Regions from separate parts of the Homo sapiens genome. Here region 1 is linked to region 2. The links are contacts of gene promoters, found by promoter capture Hi-C in blood cells and fetal thymus (Javierre and others, 2016). All regions are on one chromosome and are shown on one strand. Each heading gives the region's core, a stretch centred on a gene start or on the middle of the fragment in contact. The rest is flanking DNA. Distances are from core to core; before and after follow the strand shown.

The links. The method cuts DNA at HindIII sites, captures the fragments that hold promoters and counts their contacts. A CHiCAGO score of 5 or more calls a contact.
Region 1: a contact is called between a fragment that was not itself captured here and the fragment with the promoter of VIL1 in region 2, in 1 of 17 cell types (non-activated CD4 T cells). The highest score is 5.2, in non-activated CD4 T cells.

What each region holds. Positions count from the first base shown.
Region 1 is chr2:219,244,904-219,250,987 of GRCh38, reverse strand. STK16 (serine/threonine kinase 16) reads right to left here and starts at 5,509. Exons shown (of 8, transcript NM_001330213.2): 1 at 5,192-5,509; 2 at 4,903-5,092; 3 at 4,112-4,331; 4 at 3,742-3,875; 5 at 3,453-3,573; 6 at 3,231-3,326; 7 at 2,674-2,795; 8 at 651-2,567. The coding sequence starts at 4,988. The coding sequence ends at 2,429. TUBA4A (tubulin alpha 4a) reads left to right here. Exons shown (of 4, transcript NM_006000.3): 4 at 1-1,278. The coding sequence ends at 636. GLB1L (galactosidase beta 1 like) reads left to right here and starts at 5,544. Exons shown (of 17, transcript NM_001286423.2): 1 at 5,544-5,759. RefSeq lists enhancers at 756-875, 916-1,005, 5,368-5,797, 5,246-5,828. The HindIII fragment of the contact is 213 bases long and covers 1,144-1,356 here.
Region 2 is chr2:218,417,466-218,423,176 of GRCh38, reverse strand. It overlaps VIL1 (villin 1), which reads right to left and starts at 4,054. Exons shown (of 20, transcript NM_007127.3): 1 at 4,009-4,054. The HindIII fragment of the contact is 19,335 bases long and covers 1-5,711 here.

The DNA of each region.
Region 1 (6,084 bases), core at 1-2,500, 830 kb before region 2:
ATCACAGCTTCTCTGCGCTTTGACGGGGCCCTCAATGTGGACCTGACAGAGTTCCAGACCAACCTGGTGCCCTACCCTCGCATCCACTTCCCCCTGGCCACCTATGCACCAGTCATCTCTGCAGAAAAGGCATACCACGAGCAGCTGTCGGTGGCAGAGATCACCAATGCCTGCTTTGAGCCTGCCAACCAGATGGTAAAGTGTGATCCCCGGCACGGCAAGTACATGGCCTGCTGCCTGCTGTACCGTGGAGATGTGGTGCCCAAGGATGTCAACGCTGCCATTGCCGCCATCAAGACCAAGCGCAGCATTCAGTTTGTGGACTGGTGCCCCACAGGCTTCAAGGTTGGTATCAACTACCAGCCTCCCACTGTGGTGCCTGGGGGTGACCTGGCCAAGGTGCAGCGTGCCGTGTGCATGCTGAGCAACACGACCGCCATCGCCGAGGCCTGGGCCCGCCTGGACCACAAGTTCGACCTGATGTATGCCAAGAGGGCGTTTGTGCACTGGTATGTGGGTGAGGGCATGGAGGAGGGTGAGTTCTCCGAGGCCCGTGAGGATATGGCTGCCCTGGAGAAGGATTATGAGGAGGTGGGCATCGACTCCTATGAGGACGAGGATGAGGGAGAAGAATAAAGCAGCTGCCTGGAGCCTATTCACTATGTTTATTGCAAAATCCTTTCGAAATAAACAGTTTCCTTGCACGGTTTCTTGTTCCCTCTGAGTGCTTGAGCTTCTGCTGCCTTCCCCTTCATGCTGCTGCTGCTCTGTTTGCTGTTCATGACCCTTATCCCTTCCATCGCTGAAGGTGAGACCTGCAAAGGGGTTCTTGCCAGGCCCAGGAAGCATAACCCCAGGGACTTTAAATTGAAGTCCTAGGGTTACTCAGTATAGGGAGGAAATGAGGACCAAAATCCAGGCACAAACTGTTGAAGGATGAGTCTTCAGCTCCTTTCCAAGTAGGAGTATAATCCAGTGGTTTCTGTCTTTGAAAGTTAGACTGCTACCCTGTTCTTCCTGCTGCCTCTACATTTACCAACTCTGGAAGCAAGGCTTGGCCCAGGCTCCTCTGTGCATTATGAGGGTTTGGGAGTGGGGCTGGGCTGGCCCAGAGTTCCTGGGCATGGAGCCACGTCATAAGCTTGGGGGATGGGAGGGAACACAGGCGATCTCCTAGAGTTGTTTGTGCCACTGCACCTCTGAGCAGCTTTGCATAGCTTCCTGTCTTGCTGCTTTGCTGGAGCTGGGGCTGTGCCATTAAAAGTCAGGTCATCTCCCCTCTGTTTGTGATTTCTTTCTGGCCTCAGCCTCTGTGCTAGCTAGTGGGAGACTCCTGCTAGGGCCCTGGGGAAAGCTTCAACTTTGCTAACAGGAGCCCCAGGCCCCATGCTGATGTCATACTGTGGGGTAGACATGGTTCGGGGGAGGAGGCTTGGATCACAAAAGAGCAGGAGATGCCAACCCTGCCCTTGCCTTTCCTCCCTGGTGATTCAGGGAACAGAGCCCTTCCCTAGGGAACAGGTTTGAAGCCCAGCTAAGACAGGGCCCCTGTTTACTCAGCAGAGTAGGCAGGAAGTGGCAGCTGGATACTGCCACACCACACTGCCTCATTAATCATTAACCATGTATGAGCTTGAACGATCAGGGAGACACAGGCCAAAACAGCTGCCGCTGCCACCTCCACTCCCCTCGCCCCTAGGCTGAGGATGGGAGACCTGTAATCTACCTGTCTCAAAGCTTCCTCAGGTGTCTCCACCCAGAGGCCCTTGCCTAGCAAACCGGCTAGGCAGCTTTGACTAAGCTACTCACCCCAGGAGTGAAGGAAGGAAAGAACTAGTTGAGTGTTTTTAGGGGGCCCTAGTTCTTGACACAGGCAGATGCCAGCTTGAGCCCAAGCAGCTTTAAGTTTTGATCTAAGACAAGCTAGAACTGTCCACTGCTAACCAACCTCCTGTAGAATGAAGTCACACCATTGCCGACTCTGCACCATTCCTCCTTCCCAGGCAGTTCGCCTGAAATGGCAACCTGACTTTGGGCCCCTTGCACCTCTTCTCTCACTCCAGGAACACTGAGACTAAGATCTACACCAACCTGCTTCCACTTTATTCTTGTTTACACATTCTCCTGCTCCCAGATTTGGAGTCAGAACACTATGTGAGCTCAACAGTCCTGCTCAGAGCCATGTTCCATATCCCACCAGTTTCCCTTTTCCCAACCCCCACCCACCCCCACTCAGTAAGTCCCCTTGCCCAGGTTTTGCTCTTGGAGGGAAGAAAGCAGAAGAAAAGATGCAGGACTGAGATGATTGTCCTGACCCCGCTACCCCCAAGTGTAAGAGAAGTCCTGGATGGAATGGGTGGTGATTCCAATGAGGGATGGGAACCTCTTTCCAAGGCACAAGGGGCCATCTTCTCAACATGCTGCTTTTTCAGATTTGGGTAGTATGTTGGCCAGGAGCTGGGGGCTGAAGCGCCTCCAGCTGACTGAGGAGGAGAGGAATGTGAGGACGCTGATGCGGGTCCACGGTCATCATCGAGTTCAGGAGCTGCCGCAATGCTGAAGAATGCCTGTGGAGGGAGGAGCCCAGGGTGACCGGATGACACCTATCTGTCAACTCAGCTAATACCAGGGGGGAGTCTGAAACACTTGATGCCCTATTCGTTGCTCACTCACCTGGGGCTTTGTGGGATGCTGAGTTGGTTCTGCACAGCAAGGGCCACACTGTCACCCTTTTGGAACACCATGTCATAAGGGCCTTCCCCAAACATCATGGCATATAGCACGCAGCCTAGGGACTGAGCATAACTTGATTAGTCCCTAGAAGGGGACCAGTGGAGGTGACATCTCTCCCTTTACTTCTGTGGTAAAAGGAGACTCCATAAGCTAAAAAGAATACGCTGACCTCAGCCACATGGCACCACCAGGGTCCAGAGAAACTGCCAGTCAGCTGGAGGCCTCCGCAGCCCCTGTTTAGCTTAGCCCCTGCTTAGCCAGTGCCTTCACTACTGACACTGAGCTGTACTCACCTTGTTCAGGGGCACAGATTATACCACATCCGGTACAACTGGGTACAGTATCAGTGACATTTCCCAGGAAGGAAGTTGAAGTGGATGGGGACATATTGTGGTTCCTGGCGCCCCATGCAACAGAAACCAACAACCTACTCTACTCCACGGTGGGTACAGAGCCACAGCCCTCCCTACCCAGATACCCACCCACATGCTCCTCACCCAGACATCAGTCCGCTCATCGATGACACAGTGACTCTGCACAGAGAAGAGCTCTGGGGCTCGGTAGGAGATGGTGCACCGCTGGGCTGCCCAGTCCTGGAACAGTGATCCCAGAGCTCAAAAGTGGGGCACAGGTCATGGTCATGTGACCAAACTGGGACATGCACCAGAAGGGGTGGGAATGGGGAACAGGTGAGAAAAGGAACCTGGAGACTCTTTTACCTGCAGGGTCAGAGCCTGGCGGGAGCCCTCCACATGGATGCATGCTTGATTCATGGAACCCAAGTCCATTAAAACTGGCTGCCCCTCATCTCCAAGCAATATATTGGTGGGCTTCAAGTCTCTGTAGAGAAGTAGAAGTGACCTATGAGCATCTCTGGACAGGAAGGCTGGAATCCCAGCAAGCAAAAGAATCATACAGGCTGTTTCTTGGGAGAACAGAGACCTCCCATGTCTCCTGGTGAGGCTCTTCCTCTGGGCCCCAGCAAGCACACAGGGTCCTCCCACTGACCTGTGGGCATAACCCTTGGCATGAATGGCCTCAAGGCCTCTGCAGATCCCCAGCAGCAGCCAAAGGATTTGATCCTCGGTCAGGAAGTTGCCTTTGTCCTTCAGCCTTTCTATCTCATTCCACAGCGTACCTCTCTGCAACACAAGTTTCCCTACAGTTGGAGATGTTTTTGGAGCCTCTGCTCCTTAGGCCTGATCCCTTCCCTATGTCAAAGCCTATCAGCCCTTTCATGATACACACCTCAAACTCAAAATCTAAAGTGGCCAAACCCAGGACATGGTCCCTGCTTCCTAACATGCTGGACTGCTCACACAGCCCTTGAGTAGGTGGCTCTGCTGCAACCCCCTCCATAACCAGGAGTCTTTCTGACCTTGAAGAATGGTAGCAGCAGCCAGGCCTCATGCTTAGCACCCCGTTCCCTCAGACAGTAAGCCACGAGGCGAAGGATGTTGGGGTGATTGAAGAGGCGATGCATGTCGGCTTCTCGCTGGGCCTCCTCCCGGTCCTGCTGCTCGTGACACAGGATTCGCTTCAGGGCGTAGAAGTGTCCATCATGTAACCCTTCCACTAGGTCCACATAGCTGAACCCACTGTGGGCCAAAGGGGTCAATAAAGGGCCATGGTCATCTCCCACATGGCTTGGACCTAGAGAAATTTCCTGGTGGGGAGTGGGGTGTCCTTCCCATTTAGCAGAAACCTTCCCAAGATGTGGCTCTAAGAGAAATCTGAAGAATATTACACCGTGAGCTCCTCAGGAGCAGAGATATAGAAATCTTTGAGGTCCTATGGTCGTAATAGAGACCTCTGCACTTGACAGATGCTAAATAAATAATAGCCAACACTTATCAAGTACTTGTCAACCCCGCATTGGGTGAGACATTTTATACACATTATCTCATTTAATCCTCACAACTCCATCAGTGAGGGATAATAATCATCTCCATTAAGCTGATGAAAAAAACATGGTTTATCAAGGTCACACGAGGTGGATTTAGCAGGCCTGGCTCCAGAATCCACCTTCTTGATACTGTGTAGCTAGGTTCTGTCAGGTGAGAGAGGACAGGGATAGGGATAAAACCCTTGTGCCCCAAGCATATGCACACCGCTGTCCTTCAATGATCATAAACTTGAGGACTAGTTAACTGACTTCCAAACACTCACCCCTCCCCCAGTTTCTGGATGAAGAGGTAGCGCTTATTGTCAATGATGACAGTTCCCCGAGAGCAGACACACAGCGCGTGGCCCATAATGTCTCAGTCATCCTCTTCAAGGACGGTCTGAGGCTACCGAAGAGCTCGTCCAGGGTGAGTGGGCTCTTCCAGGAGATGCGCTGGGGGCCCAGCGGATCATGCTGGAAAGAAAACAACGGCAGGGTCACAGGTCCGGCACAATCCAGACGACCCATGAAGTACCAATGCGGAGAGCTCAGGCCCAGGTCTCTGGAACCTACACTATAGTGTAGAGAAAACAGGCCCTGCTCCGTCGCCAGCTTCAGGGGTGGGGTCAGGCGCCTTACGGCCTCAGGACACACAGCGGCTACCGGGCCACTTCCTCCAACCCCAGCCCATCTTTGGGCAGCCCCCGCTCCCACGCCCATCGCGCCGCAAAAGCAGAGCATAGCGTAGTTTCAGAGGACGTGCGAGGCTCAGGCCCACTCCTGGCAGGGCCCACCCCGGTCTAGGAGCCCAGAGCCCGGGATGGGCCATCTGCACTGCCGGACTGACCTGGCTCGGGCCAGAGAGAAGCGCCACCGACCGGAAGCAGTGCTGACATCATCAGTCCGCGCCGGCGTAACGGCCCGCGGTATCTCAGCAACCGCTGGGCATCCGGAGGATGTGGGGACGCGGAGCTGAGAGGCTCCGGGCTAGCTAGGTGTAGGGGTGGACGGGTCCCAGGACCCTGGTGAGGGTTCTCTACTTGGCCTTCGGTGGGGGTCAAGACGCAGGCACCTACGCCAAAGGGGAGCAAAGCCGGGCTCGGCCCGAGGCCCCCAGGACCTCCATCTCCCAATGTTGGAGGTAGGAGGCTTCATACCTCTGGCGCTCTGGGGCAGAAAGCGGCCAACTACACTGCAGCCTGGAGGGGGATCCAGTGAGGGGCGGGTCTGGTGGCCTGGTCTCCTGATCCCGTACAACCTTCTGGGCTCTGGCCTGTATCCCACTACCCCTAGTCTCAGTGGTTAAGAGCTCAGGCTTGTGAACCAGACTTCCAGTTTCTAAATTGAGTGTTAATAGCATGCTAGCTGTGTAACCTCGGGCAAGTTACTTAACCTCTCGGATCCTTACTTTTGGTAGCTGTAAAATAGGTATAATAGTACATAAGGTTAAGTAGCTTAACTGTGAG
Region 2 (5,711 bases), core at 2,805-5,304:
TGATCCACCTGTCACAGCCTCCCAAAGTGCTGGGATTACAGGCATGAGCCACTGTGCCTGGCCGGCCCTTTTTGCTTGGACCTGTAGCTGTATTCGCTCCTGCTGCTCATCAGCCTCAGCTGGGGAGCTTCGGAACGTGCTGATGCTCCAGGCTCTGGTGATTCTGATTTAATTAGGCCAGGGTGGGGCTTGGGCATGGGTGCTTTATTTTCTGCCTTTTGGGAGGTGAGGCATGGGTGCTTTTAAAACTCCCCAGTGATTCTGATATGAACTAGGGCAGACAGCCACTAGTGCCCAGTTATTCTCCTCCCTAGTTTTGAGGTTCCTCCTCATCAGGCCAGAGGCCACCCCGATCTCCATGGAGCCTATCACCCAGCCTGGCAGAGAGCTGCCCTCCATGAATGCTCCTTGAACTGATGAATAATGAATGAGAGGGCATGTGGCCGACAGGTCAGGCCTCCACTCGCTGACAGCCTGAAATCTCACTATCTAATCTCTCCTTGCACCTTGACTTTGAGTCACCTCTTAGTGACTTGGCCTTTTAGTACTTAGAAACTCCCTTTTCTGAGCCCTGAGGGGTGGCTGCTGCTTCCCTGGCGTTCTAGAGTTGGAGGTAAGGCCCTGCCCAGTCTCTGATCATTGCCTGCTCCGACTGATTAGCAGCAGCTTGCCGTGTAACTGTAGGAGCCCCTTGGGCTTGGGTCCTGTCTGATGGCCTGTTGGCTATGGCCTTCTCCATCAGGCAACCATGGTCTCCTCCATCAGGTATTTTTCAACCTACCAAGTCCCCAGGGCTCCCAGGATTCCTGGTCCAGCAGAACCAGGTTGGGTATAAAGGAGGAGACCGTTTTCTGTTTCATTTCTGTCATCACCTTTGTCTCTGTCCCCTTCTTTTATTTATTTATTTATTTATTTATTTTTGGGACAGAGTTTCACTCTTGTTGCCCAGGCTGAAGTACAATGGCACAATCTCGGCTTACTTCAACCTCCGCCTCCCGGGTTCAAGTGATTCTCCTGCCTCAGCCCCCCAAGTAGCTGGGATTACAGGCGCGAGCCACCAAGCCCAGCTAATTTTTGTATTTTTAATAGAGACGGGGGTTTCACCATGTTGGCCAGGCTGGTCTCGAACTCCTGACCTCAGGTGATCCACCCGCCTCAGCCTCCTAAATTGCTGGAATTACAGGCGTGAGCCACCGCGCCGGGCCCCGTCCCTCTTTTTCTTTGACACTCACTAGCTGTATGAACGTAGACTTCCCTTCTTCATCTATGAGCTGAGGGGGTCAACTTAGGGGGTTAACTAAATCGATGATCTCTAAAGCCTCACCCAGGGACATGCTGATTCCAGGGTTAACTGGCAGCAAGAGGAATAGAGGGTGGACATGAGCAGGCACTTCTTGCTTATCAGAGAGGGGATTCAGGGGAGCAGAGACTTGAAAAAGCCAGCGCTCCCCCTCCCCAGAGAGAAATCAGGATTGGGGCCAGCCCCCACAGGCCAAAGGTGGGCAAGGGGACTCAGGAGTGGAAGCTCTGAGATGTGGCCCCCCTACCTGGTGTATACCCTCCAGATGCTCCTGCCCTCTACCCATGTTGGTCAGAGCAGATGCCTCTCCTCCACCCCTTGGTAGGGCCTCCTCCTCACTTCTCCTGTCTTCCCTGAACTTCCAGGAAGACCAGGGCCCGTCACTTCCCCCAGCCCTGCCACCGTGGACTCTGGTTTGGATTTGAGTTGTCTCCTCCTTCAGTTTTAATTCACTGGCTTCCTCCACTCCTGGTACTTTCTCTTCTGTGTCCCCAGACCAGGGAAGGGCATGGTCACCCCAAGACCCCAAAGTCAGCCATCTGTGCAGCATCCTGGACTCTTTCTGCTCCTGCCCTTCCATCCACCTAAACTCCCTTGAGTCTCCCCACTACACACAGCCCCCTGGCCCCTCTCTGCTGGCACTCTGCCCTCTAGAAATGCCACACTGCTGGCGGCCCCACCCCCATGCTGCCTCTCACCCCACGCCTGCTTGCACTGCTCCAATATGGAAAGCTCTCCCCACCTTTCTGACACTAACATGCTCTTCTAGACTCAATTTAGATCTCATTTCTTCCAGGAGACCTTCCTAGAATCCTCAGCTGGACAAGGGGCCCCTCTGCATCCTGGACTGTCCCTTCTCTTGGCCCCCTGACCACATGGTGATGAAATAACCTGTTTGTAAGTTGGAGGTCCCTGAGCTCCAAGACCTAGATATGTTTGTCTTTGCAGCCCCCAGCTCCTAGCACATAGTAGGTGCTCAACAAATACTCATGGGCTGGGCGTGGTGGCTCACGCGTGTAATCCCAGCACTTTGGGAGGCCGAGGCAGGCGGATCACGAGGTCAGGAGATCAAGACCATCCTGGCTAACACGGTGAAACCCTGTCTCTACTAAAAATACAAAAAATTAGCCGGGCGAGATGGTGGGCGCCTGTAGTCCCAGCTACGCGGGAGGCTGAGGCAGGAGAATGGCGTGAACCCAGGGGGTGGAGCCTGCAGTGAGCTGAGATCACGCCACTGCACTCCAGCCTGGATGAAAGAGTGAGACTCCTTCTCAAAAAAAAAACAAAAAAAAAAAAAACAAATACTCATGATGCTGAAAGGCTGAACTGTGGGATGGAAGGAGGACCCTCCCAGGGCACTGGAGGGGTTTGGGCTCCCACTGTCTGCAGGTCCATCTTGCCTTTCTTTCTTTTTTCTTTTTTTCTTTTCTTTTTTTTTTTTTTTTTTTGAGACAGAGTCTCACTCTGTCACCCAGGCTGGAGTGCAATGGTGCAATTCTGGCTCACTGTCATCTCCGCCTCCTGGGTTCAAGCGATTCTCGTGCCTCAGCCTCCCGAGTAGCTGGGACTATAGGCGTGCGCGAGCACACCCAGCTAATTATGTATTTTTAGTAGAAACGGGGTTTCACTATGTTGGTCAGGCTGGTCTTGAAGTCCTGACCTCAAGTGATCCACCCCACTTGGCCTCCCAAAGTGCTGGGATTCCAAGCATGAGGCTCTGCACCTGGCCCACCATGCCTTTCTTATCTGAGCCCTGTTGTACTTGAGTTGCGGCTCTGTTGTAAGTGGGGTGCTGCCACGGCTCCTAGTTCCCAGTCGTGCAGCTCTGAGCTGGACAGGAATGTGGTGGGGCAGTGGGGGTGAAGTCCCACCCCTCAGACAAAGGACATCCTCCTGCTTCCCAGGCTCATGATAGAAGAGGGAATGGACACCCGCCAAGACCCTCCAGCCCAAAGGCTCTGCCCCAGCAGATGATGTCCCGAGAAGACAGCAGCCAGTGTGTCCTCAGAGCCTGGTCTGCAGCTAGCTCCCATTCCTAGTTCTGCTGAATGGGCCCACAGTGGCTGGGGAGGCCAATGGGGCAGCTCCGGGTAGAGGGGAGATGGGGCAGAGGTGCATGCTAGGGTGGCCCGGCATGGCCCAGGACCTAAGGCCCTGCCACCTCCAGCCCCTTGCCTCTGCCCTTGCCTCTGTGTGTGCCCATTCAATTGCTGGTGGCTGTTGCTCATATGCTAGGAGCCAGGAGGCAGGACCCGGAGGTCCCAGGAGTGTCAGAGGAATGGTGACACAAAGAAAAAAACACTTCAGATGAAGAACGCACGGGCAAAGAGATGAGCTGGTGGGGAGGGGGCTCGGGGAGTGAGGTCAGGGAGACCAACTAGTCCCGGTCTGCCCAGCACTGTCCTGGTTTTAACTCTAGAAGTTCCAGGGCAATTGGGATGGTGACACCCAAAGTGGGATGGGGCTAGCCACAGGTAGGAGACTGAGAGAGCCATTGTCTGGGGCAGGGCCTGCAAAAGTCTCTCCCTGGAGGCCCAGGGCAGACACACTGGGCTCCCAGCACTTCTCACGCTATCCAGAGTGTCAAGCCTCCCCTTCGAGCCCGTACCAAGGTGCTCCAGGAGGCCCCAAGTTGCCCGAGAAAAGCAGAGGACCCCGTCCCCTCGCACCACCTAAGGTCTCCATGTGTTCCCACCAGGTTGCCTTACCTGTCTTGGGGAGGCAGCTGCCACCTGGGAGATCTCAGGGAATTGTGGCAAGCTGGCTGCAGAAGAGCGACCTTTGTCCCCACCCCCCCTCCTCTAGGAACTGCCTTCACCATATAAGGGAAGATAGGGCCCCAGAGAGGTGAGGGGGTGGGGAGGCAGGTGCTGCCAGGTCCCTGGGAGCCCAGAGCCCTCCACAGCCTGACAATGAGAGCTGATGTGCCCCACCCTTGGCTTTTTTTTTTTTTTGAGCCTCACTCTGTCATTCAGGCTGGAGTGCAGTGGTATGAATTCGACTCACTGCAACCTCCGCCTCCCAAGTTCAAGTGATTCTCCTGCCTCAGCTTCCCAAGTAACTGGGACTACAGACATGTGCCACCATGCCTGGCTAATTTTTGTATATTTAGCAGAGACAGGGTTTCACCATGTTGGCCAGGCTGGACTTGAACTCCTGACCTCAAATGATCCACCTGCCTCGACCTCCCAAAGTGCTGGGATTACAGGTGTGAGGCCCGGCGCCCAGCCCCTCCCTTGGCTTCTGAGTGAGCAAGGGATGGGGTGCTTTTCTGCCCAGGGCCCAGGCCCTCACCACAGGCAGACAGCACTGTCCAGGTAGGGTCAGCGGCGCCTGAACCTTTCCTCCTACCAACCAAGAGAAGGAGGCTCAGCTGTCCTCCCACCTGCCCTGGGGTGAATGGTTCATGGAGAAAGAGAGGCAGGACTCTAGGGTTGCAGAAGCCCCAAACCCAGGAATGCAGGGACTTATACTCAGGGCCCCTCCAGAACAGATGGGAGGTCTCTTAGAGGTCTCCTAGAGGTCTCTTCTCAGCATGACCCTCACTTAGCAAGGGCCCCAGTGAGCACAACTGCTCCTCCTCTCCACCCTTAGGGGCACTGGCTCCACCTGGAGTGTTTTTTTTGTTTTCGTTTTTTTTGCTGAGATGGAGTCTGTCTCTGTCGCCCAGGCTGGAGTGCAGTGGCGTGATCTCATCTCACTGCATCCTCCGCCTCCTGGGTTCAAGTGATTCTCCTGCCTCAGCCTCCCGAGTAGCTGGGATTACAGCCGCACACCACCACGCCCAGCTAATTTTTGTATTTTTAGTAGAGACGGGGTTTCACCATGTCGGCCAGGCTGGTCTTGAACTCTTGACCTCGTGATCCGCCCACCTCGGCCTCCCAAAGTGCTGGGATTACAGGCGTGAGCCACTGCACCCGGCCCACCTGGAGTTTTTATGAGATGCCATAAACCAGTGCCTTTGAACTCTGTTCTGCTACCCTCTCCCAGAAGCCAAGGTTTCCATGTCTGACCCCTGACCCTAGGGGATCCATCTCACTCAGGCAGGAAAGTTGTGCAGCCAACTCCAGCGTGGATCTCGCTGAGAAACCAGCTTCACACGCAAACTCAGCACCTTGGGCAGCTGCCTCCCAGACTGCAGAAATTCTCCTATCACCTGTGAAGCCTGGTCCTTAGGAGGGTGACGTGAAGTGGGCTGGGTGAGGGCAGTACGTCCTTCTCATCACAGCCTCCCAAGAGTTCTGGAGACCAAATGTACAGTAGTCCCCCCCTTATCCAACGGGGGATACATTCCAGGACCCGCAGTGGATGCCTTAAAACCTCGGATCGTACCGAACCTGGCTGCCATCAGCTGGAGCATGTTTCTGTTCGTGTCTTCCACCCACAAATTGAAGCCCCTTCTATTTTCATT